2 separate regions of the Homo sapiens genome follow, and region 2 is linked to region 1. Evidence: promoter capture Hi-C in human tissues and cell types (Jung and others, 2019). All regions are on one chromosome and are shown on one strand. Each heading gives the region's core, a stretch centred on a gene start or on the middle of the fragment in contact. The rest is flanking DNA. Distances are from core to core; before and after follow the strand shown.

What was found. The method cuts DNA at HindIII sites, captures the fragments that hold promoters and counts their contacts. A contact is called where the count stands out against the background at its distance.
Region 2: a fragment that was not itself captured here is called in contact with the fragment with the promoter of NCAM1 in region 1 in 2 of the 25 tissues and cell types used here (hippocampus and liver).

The regions. Positions count from the first base shown.
Region 1 is chr11:112,959,618-112,964,130 of GRCh38, forward strand. It overlaps NCAM1 (neural cell adhesion molecule 1), which reads left to right and starts at 1,803. Exons shown (of 20, transcript NM_181351.5): 1 at 1,803-2,047. The coding sequence starts at 1,996. NCAM1-AS2 (NCAM1 antisense RNA 2) reads right to left here and starts at 3,843. Exons shown (of 3, transcript NR_120563.1): 1 at 3,593-3,843; 2 at 1,750-1,859; 3 at 1-1,234. RefSeq lists an enhancer at 1,746-2,523. The HindIII fragment of the contact is 9,849 bases long and covers 1-4,513 here.
Region 2 is chr11:113,007,653-113,012,165 of GRCh38, forward strand. All of the region lies in intron 1 of NCAM1 (neural cell adhesion molecule 1), which reads left to right. Among named protein-coding and RNA genes, the nearest start is that of NCAM1-AS2, 46 kb to the left of the region's middle. The HindIII fragment of the contact is 7,126 bases long and covers 1-4,513 here.

The DNA.
Region 1 (4,513 bases), core at 553-3,052:
AAATCAGCAGGATTCAAATTGCTACTATAATATGTCAATTATAAAAATCATATGCACATACAGAAGACAAAATCTATGAGTATCTCTGGAATCTGTGGGATTTGGGGTTATTTTTAGTTCTTTCTACTTTTCTGTACTTTTGAATTGTTTATACTTGGAATGAGAGAAATAGCCCAAAGTAAACGTTGTGGAAGATTTACTTGGGGGAAGAAATACTTTTCAGGGGTCCAAGCTAATTACACTGTACTGGTGTGGCCCACTTGGTCTATTATAGAGGAGGAAAGTGGGGAAGAGATGGGGCCTGTCCAATAAGGATGGATGTCCTGACAGTAGAGGATGGACTTTTAAAAACTGCTACAGCGGCTGGGTGCGGTAGCTCACGGCTGTAATCCTAGCACTTTGGGAGGCTGAGGTGGGCAGATCACGAGGTCAGGAGTTCGAGACCGGCCTGACCAACATGGTGAAACACCGTCTCTACTAAAAATACAAAAATTAGCTGGGCGTGGTGGCGCGCGCCTGTAATCCCAGCTACTCAGGAGGCTGAGGCAGCAGAATCGCTTGAACCGGGAGCAGAGGTTGCAGTGAGCAGAGATGGCGCCACTGCACTGCAGCCTGGGCGACAGAGCGAGGCTCCATCTCAAAAAAACAAAACAGAAACAAAACAAAACAAAACAAAACAAAAAACCTGCTACAGGAGTGGGGAGGCCGACCTTTGAAGAAAAACGGAGTACCCGGTAACATTAGTGCTTTAATGCCTTTGAACTTATGCAGACTTCCTCTGTTAGAGGGTTTCAGTGTTCTAGGCTAATGGGTTAACCTGACATCTAGAACACCTTTCTCACATTAGTTCCTTACATACCCAAGCCTTCAGGTGCTGAGACATGATTCTTTTCACCCCGCTTTCTCCACCCCCTACTTTTGAAAACACGGGTGGAATTTTAATTAAAGCCTATTGTGTTGGTACCTCAGTAATATTATACATTAATATCTTTAAGAATTAAGGTCACGTCCCCATGTAAGAAAATATTATTTAATGACGCTTCTATATCATAATACCTATATAAAAGCCTGGCTATTTTAATAAAGAGACCACAGATTTCAGAATTTATAAACAGGAAAACATTTTCTTCGGGTTATTTCTGGAAATCTCTTCCAAACATCGGAGTTTTCTTCTAACTTAAGTCTCTTCCCACCTCCTTCCCAGGGGATCTGCTGAAGGGTGTTGTATGTCTCTCTGTGGGAGAGCAAACTTCACAGTTAGGATAAAACAAACAAACAAACAATATCCAAACAACACCCAGCAACGGCAACCCCCATCCCTCTCCAAAGTTCTAATTTCCCGCACTTAAAGTCCTGGGCTATCCTTGTGTTGCAAGGATCTTAGAATCGAAATGGAGGGATTTGACAACTTTACCTAACCAAATCTAAAATTTTGCTTTTATTATTTACTAGTTATCAAAATATGCAAACTGCTGATTAAGGAAGGCTGGGTAGCAGGAGCGCCTGCGAAGGCGTAGGGTAGAAGTGTGAAAAGAAATCCCAGCTCTCCCAGGGAGACTGCGTGTGAAAGAGCCCGGCTCCCCCAAAAGCTCCAGGCCGCGTTTTGCAGGCTTCCGCATCTGCCTCCCCTGTCTCTCTTACCTCCTTGATGTTCGGCACTATTTGTGGCCGGCGTGGTGGAAGGACACAGTGAGGTTCTCACCCCCGCCCCCCGCTCCTCGCTCCCATCCCAGTTCCATCAAAACGAACCCGGGCCAGCGCAAGGATCTCCGAGTTGCGAGTGTGCTGAGGCTGGGACTGTCACTCATTCTCCGATCAGCGCGTGAACGCAGCTCGGCTGCCGCTGGCAGGAAACAATTCTGCAAAAATAATCATACTCAGCCTGGCAATTGTCTGCCCCTAGGTCTGTCGCTCAGCCGCCGTCCACACTCGCTGCAGGGGGGGGGGCACAGAATTTACCGCGGCAAGAACATCCCTCCCAGCCAGCAGATTACAATGCTGCAAACTAAGGATCTCATCTGGACTTTGTTTTTCCTGGGAACTGCAGGTACATTTTTTTTTTTTTTAATTCTCAATCTGGTTTGCTAATTACCCCTTCCTCCTACTCCTAGGAGGAACGCTATTATTTTGGGTGGTTTTACGTGGACTGCTAAGGCTGGTCATTTTCGTTTAGCTGTGAAAGGAGCGCGTCGCCCTTGCTGCCCAGCCGAACCCCGCTCCCTCCAGGGCTGCGCTGCACGGGGCTGCCTCCCCGAGCCGCCAGCGCCCGGCGCCCCTCCGGCGCGTCCGCCCTTCCCACTTTGTGCGCCCGCGGCGGTGGGAGCAGAGCCGGCCGGCTCCTGGGGACTCAGCGGCCGCGCTGGTGATGGGCAGCGCTCCTTCCCCAAAGGCGGGCGGCGGGGCGGGGGAGGTCGCGGCTCGGGTGGTGCCGCCGCACGGGCTCGGATTCCGAGGGGGAAGTGGCTTGTCAGCCCCGGCTCCGGGAAGAGTGAACAATAAGGCTAGGGCAGCCGCCCCAGATCGTTATATTCCTGGGTCTAATAAAGTCAGGATCGCTGCTTTGCTTCCCCCGCCCCAGAAGAATAACGGTTTGCAAAATGGGGCAAAATGGGCAGAATCGCACGGCCGTTGTTGTTGGTGTGACCGTTGTTGCACCCCAGTCGACATGACGTTAGTTTTTCATTTGCCAAATTGCTGGTTAGTTGCAAAGCCTACCCTCGGCCGCGAGCACTGAAGGATGGGAGGGTCGAGCGCCGCGTTTTGACAGGAGGAAGTGCGGAGGGGCGGAGGGCGAGGAGGGCGTGATTGGGGCTGCCTGGTGTGTGCGCGCGCGTGTGCGCGCGTGTGTCTTTACACGCGCCGCGTGCCCAGTGTTGCACGGGGCGGGAGAAGAATGGCAGGTAGCCGCCCGAAACACCTCGCCCTGTCTCCTTTCTTTGGGCGAGGTTCCCGATCCTGGCAAAGTGTGAACAATAGGGAGCTGGGAGGAAGACAGTAGTGATGCTGCCGCGGGTGGCGGGGGTTGCGCCGCCGCCCAGAGAACCTCGGCAGTGTGCAGGGAGGTGCATTTCATTTTGGCTATTTCCATCCCGGCCTCCCTGGAAAATTCTTCTGTGCGTGCCCACCCTCCCCTCCAGCTGTCATCCCCCCACCTCCACCCAAGGATTTGCGCTTTGGCTCTGATGGACGGGAGGGAAGGAAGAAAAGCAGGGGCCGCAGAGAGCTGGGTGGGTTGGGCGGACATTCTGGGCGGGGGGCGTGTGCTGGGAAGCGATCGAGGAAAGCCGGGCGGAGGGGCTGTGTGTCGCGGTCGCAGCTCCAGGTACCGTTGTACCTGCCCTGGACGGCCGACCCCCGGTTGGGGAGCGCACGGGGCGGGCCAGGGAGCACCCAGTGCGCCCCCTCCGCGGGCGGCACAAGAGCAGCGCTCGGCCGCCGCCTCCAGCCAACTCGGGTCCCTCCCACGGCGACCAATCAGTGCGAAGCTGGCTGGGCGGGAAGCCGCGAGAGGCTTTTATTGCGGCGCGGGTGGCGGCCAGGAGCTGCCAGGACAGTCTCCCGGTGCTTCAGCCTAACGGTCTCGCTCACTCACCGCCAAGAGAAACCCCGCCCTGCGGCCGGTCCCCCGCCTGCCCGGCAGTTTCCGAGGAAATAAAATGGAGACTAGGTGGTCACCGGGAGTGCTCCTGGTCCGGCCGCCCGTGCTCGCCCACTCTCGCCTCTTTCACGCCGACTTGGAGCATCCCACCGCCCCCGCCAGCGCTCACTCTCGCGCCGCGGAATCCGGGCCTGAGCGCGTCGCCGGGGAGGGCATCCTGGCAGGCACACCTACGCGCGTGCGCTGACCGGCCGACCGCGGGCCGGGGGCTCTACTGACGGCGGGGCGGGGCCGTGGCAGGGCCCGGAGAGGAGGGGTGGGGACCAAGCCTAGTCCGCCTGGCCCTGGGTCTCCGCTGCCACCTGGGCGGGGGCCACCCCGGTTATGCCCCTTTCCGCGGTGCCCGTGGGTGCCGCGACGCGACCTGTCCACATGGGGCGGGGGAAGGGGGGTGTTTTTGAGACATCCTCGCCCCCGGGTGGGAGCGTGACAATGGAGCCCGGATATTTGGTGGGCCTTTTGGGGGATCGCCTGGCGGTCCTTTCCATCATCGTGATGGGTACAGTCATCAGTATTTGGATCCCGTGGAAGTTGCAGGCCCAGGAATTCCCACTGGGATGTTCCTGGATGCCCAGGCAGGGGAGGCATTCTAACCAGTGTTCCCTGGAATGAAAGCGACCTCTTTCCTGGCCCGGTACCTTGAGGATGGGAAGAAGGCAGAACGTGAAACACATACAAGGTTGCTTAACAAAAGAAAGAAGTTGAATGGTTTTCCAAAGAGAAATAATTTCCCATTAAAATGTCTTTTGTACCATAGTTTTTTTTTAAAAAAATCAAAGAATTCAAGTCAAAGGGTTAGAATGAAAATGAAAACATAACAACAAGTATATATACATATGTATATATATCTGAGGT
Region 2 (4,513 bases), core at 1,357-3,856, 49 kb after region 1:
GTGATATAGTTGTGATTGCCTGTGCATGCATGAATATCCCAAGTACCAGCAGTGCAATTTGCAAAATGGAAGAAATCTCAGAGACAACAGTGAAACACTCTTACCAGATGCTGCATTGCCAGTGTTCTTCAAGGCTTAGAGATGGTATGACATGGAAAAGCATGGGCTTGAATGGTTTGGAGTCAAAATATAATTCAAAGTTGGATTCTGAATGTGAAGAAGGGTTAGAGATACTGAATGAACTCATTGTTCTGATATTTTCTTTTGTACCTAAGCTTAAAAGTGATATATGGTAAAAATATGTGTCTGTGTATAAAATAACTTCCATAATAGGTGGAAAATAAAAAAATTTGAAGTAATAAGGCACCGTGTCAATTTAATTGACAGCTTTTATTTCTTTCTTAGTCCATAAAATAATGGTGCATCTTACAACACATGGAGACTTAGAGTTCATTAATTATGGTAACTAAGAGTTGCTGAAAGTCCCTCTTCTTCATAGTCTTATTCCAGTATGGCCTCATCTCATGGATTATGAATATAAGTTATGACACTTTTTGATAGAGGATCAGAGAATTTAGCCTCAAAGTTGGACTGTTTACATTATGATACTCCAATACTGGCTTTCAGAATAATCACAGATAGGGGGGCAGGGGTCACATGGCCATTTCTATGGCTTTCTTCCTTGCAAGCTGAGGAGATCTCTCCAGAGCACACCTCAAGAAAAGCAAAGTGGTAATACATGGCTATAATGAATGTAGCCAAGACAGTTTCAGAGCAGGATTAACAATGACTCATTTCAGCCGTGGAAATATTTTAGTGGTCCACATGTCTAATTTTATTTCCTGCAAAACTCTCCCCATATATTAGTTGCAAATTATCCCCCTAAATGAATTGTTGGTTTTAAGCCAGTTAATATTGGAGGACTGCTTCTCAAAATTATGGTTTTGATTTCAAACTGAAGCCATTCTTCTTGATACTAAATAGTTCCATCGAGTCACCAATTGTCTGTCAAACTAGTGAAACTAAAATCATATCATCTGGAGGTTACTCATCTCTCGATTTCTGTAGTGATTTTAAATCAGTAAGTTAAAAGTCAGAAAGAAAGGGAACCAAACATCTCTTTGTTTTACACACTGAAATGTTTTCTGATCCCCTGGAGATCATTCTTACTGCTCTTCCTTAAACTCTGGCATTTGGTGATAGACACAACATCAGCAGTATCTGGGCTCAGTATGGCCCACTGAGCCTGAATAGAGCTGAGTCAAGTGCACAGAATGGAAGACCAAGGAAAGGTCAACACAAGCTGCAAACTGTCCTGTGTTTTTCTGACCGATCTCCCATGGGGGCCTCAGGGGTGTCACAGCGGGAGAGTGCAATAACCTGGTCTAAGTATTTTGCTATTCATGGAGAATGTTAGTTAGCCTGAGAAACTGAGCCTTGAACTCAGTTTCTGACGGAAACTCATAGACATTATGTTTGGCACACAGTCATCTCAATTCGTTTTTTTCTTTTTCAAATAGGACAGACTCATGTAGGACCACGTCGGTAGAATTATCAAAAAATTGGCAAACAATTTACCTGCTTAGTCAGACTAGACCTTGAAATCTGTGGTGGCAGGAAGTCTCCATTGGGCTGATTTAATTGGAAGGGTTTTTTCGGGTTTTTTTTTTTTTTTTTTTTTTTTTTTTTATTGAGATGGTCTCACTCTGTCACCTAGGCTGGAGTGTGATGGTGTGATCATGGCTCACTGCAGCCTCAACGTCCTGGCCTCAGGTGATCCTCCCACCTCAGTCACCCGAGTAGCTGGGACTACAGGTGCCCACCACGCCTGGGGAATTTTTTGTATTTTTTGTAGAGCTGGGTTCTCACCCTGTTGCCCAGGTTGGTAATTGGAAGGTTTTAAACAGTCTCTGTATGTGAGAGTGAGCACATCTAGCCATCCAGTGAGGATAGGAGTCTCCATGCAACCGAATGTGATTTAATGTTGTTCCTCTCTAGGACTCATCTCTAAACTCCACTCACAGGTCAGAAAACTTTTCCAAGACCATGTCTCCACATTTTGAGTTTGAAAAAATGAGATCAGGGTCTTACAGATGTTTTGGGATTGTAGAAGATAAAGGGAGTAATATGGGTTTGGAAGACCCTGTTATTCATGACAATGCAGAAGGGACTAGAGCAATGCTTATGTTTTTGTGTCTGTGAAAAGGGGGCCTACTGGAAGGGAATAAAGTCAACAGATGCATAAGAGACCAAGATCTTCAGGCACATGGAAGCTTGTATTTATCCACTGTCTACAATTCCCAGTGTAAGCAGAGACCAGTGTACAGGCTAAGAAGTACTGAAACTTTCTTTGACTTAGGAAATTGAGCTGCATCTTGAAAAAAAAAAAAGAACAGTTAATTCAGTTTAAAAAGGAAAAGCAAAACCACCTAATGAACCAATTTCATATTTTCTGAAAGTAGGAAACTGCAGTAAAACTAGGATGTCAGGCATTCTCACATTCGATCCTGAACTAAATTAGCTTTCTAGTTGATTCATGTCTTTGGCTATGATATGCTAATTGCAGACCCTTTTTATATATTTATTAAAGTAGGATCTCACCTTTAGCAATTCATTATGATTTGGTTTTAAAAAATAACTCTATACTTGAAAGAATTAAAATGTATTTCCTCAGAAATATTCTATAAATCAGACTTCTCTATTTTAGTCAGATGGGCTTTTAATAATATGAATGTGAATTAGTGAGGCTTGATTTTAATTGCTTCATTTTCCTTATTCTGATGAATAACAGGATCCTATAGCTTTTCAATACAATAGCTGATAATAAAACCACCTCACCTGTTATTTATGAGTCATATTCTATTCTCCAGAGTGCCTTCAGCTAATGAGCAAACATCAGCTGTATCCCTGAAAGAATAATTGTTCTTATAGAAATAATTACTGATTGATAATTACTGACTTTTTTGAGATTGAAAGACCTGCTCTCTATTTTTCTTTTATGCTATACTCAACAGGAAAAGTCAGTTGGCGAGAGTACCAAGTATTTAATTACTCAAAATATTAATTTAATTAATTTCAAGTAATACATATTGAGTGTATAGTACTGCCTGTCAGGGGGACTTTGGTAAGATATGACCCACACACATGAAAAGTTACATGACAATAAAGTCAGGTTATCATTATGTGTCAAATGAACACTTAAGACAGTAGCTATTGTAGAATTCAAGAAGCGGAGGAGTCATAAGATCAGGAGTCACTGAAGGATTCATCATTGGGGGAGGCCTTTTTGAGGGCCTTTACTTGGGGTAGGATTTTTTTTTTAACTATACTTTAAGTTTTAGGGTACATGTGCACATTGTGCAGGTTAGTTACATATGTATACATGTGCCATGCTGGTGCGCTGCACCCACTAACTCGTCATCTAGCATTAGGTATATCTCCCAGTGCTATCCCTCCCCCCTCCCCCCACCCCACCACAGTCCCCAGAGTGTGATATTCCCCTTCCTGTGTCCATGTGATCTCATTGTTCAATTCCCACCAATGAGTGAGAATATGCGGTGTTTGGTTTTTTGTTCTTGCGATAGTTTACTGAGAATGATGATTTCCAATTTCATCCATGTCCCTACAAAGGACATGAACTCATCATTTTTTATGGCTGCATAGTATTCCATGGTGTATATGTGCCACATTTTCTTAATCCAGTCTATCATTGTTGGACATTTGGGTTGGTTCCAAGTCTTCACTATTGTGAATAATGCCGCAATAAACATACGTGTGCATGTGTCTTTATAGCAGCATGATTTATAGTCCTTTGGGTATATACCCAGTAATGGGGTGGCTGGGTCAAATGGTATTTCTAGTTCTAGATCCCTGAGGAATCGCCACACTGACTTCCACAATGGTTGAACTAGTTTACAGTCCCACCAACAGTGTAAAAGCGTTCCTATTTCTCCACATCCTCTCCAGCATTGGGGTAGGATTTTTAAGCAGGTGAGGAGAAGGGTAGAAAAATAGAGAGATGGTAGCAGTGGTACCTTGTGTAGCATAAGCAACCATAAAAGGAAATGACTGTGTTTGGAGGGGATCGTTAAGCAGTCTGCTTTGCTCTGCCAAACAAGGGGCTTATGCTCATCAACACTGTCAATGTCTTGAAGGACAAGGAAAGGCTGAAGAATTGATTCAGATGGAAGGAGACTAAGGCAGCATGACAACTAAATGCAAAGTGTGATTCTGGATTGGAGACTGGTTTGGAAAAAAAAATTTCTTTTCTTTCCTTCTTTCCTTCTCTCCTTCTCTCCTCTCCTTCTCTCCTTTCCTTCCTTCCTTCCTTCCTTCCTTCCTTCCTTCCTTCCTTCCTTCCTTTCTTTCCTCTTTCTTTTTTTTGGTGTGTGACAGATTCTCCGTCTCCCAGGCTGGAGTGCAGTGGCGCGATCTTGGCTCACTGCAACCTCCATCTCCTGGGTTCAAGTGGCTCTCATGCCTCAGCCTCCTGAGGAGCTGGGACTATAAGCGC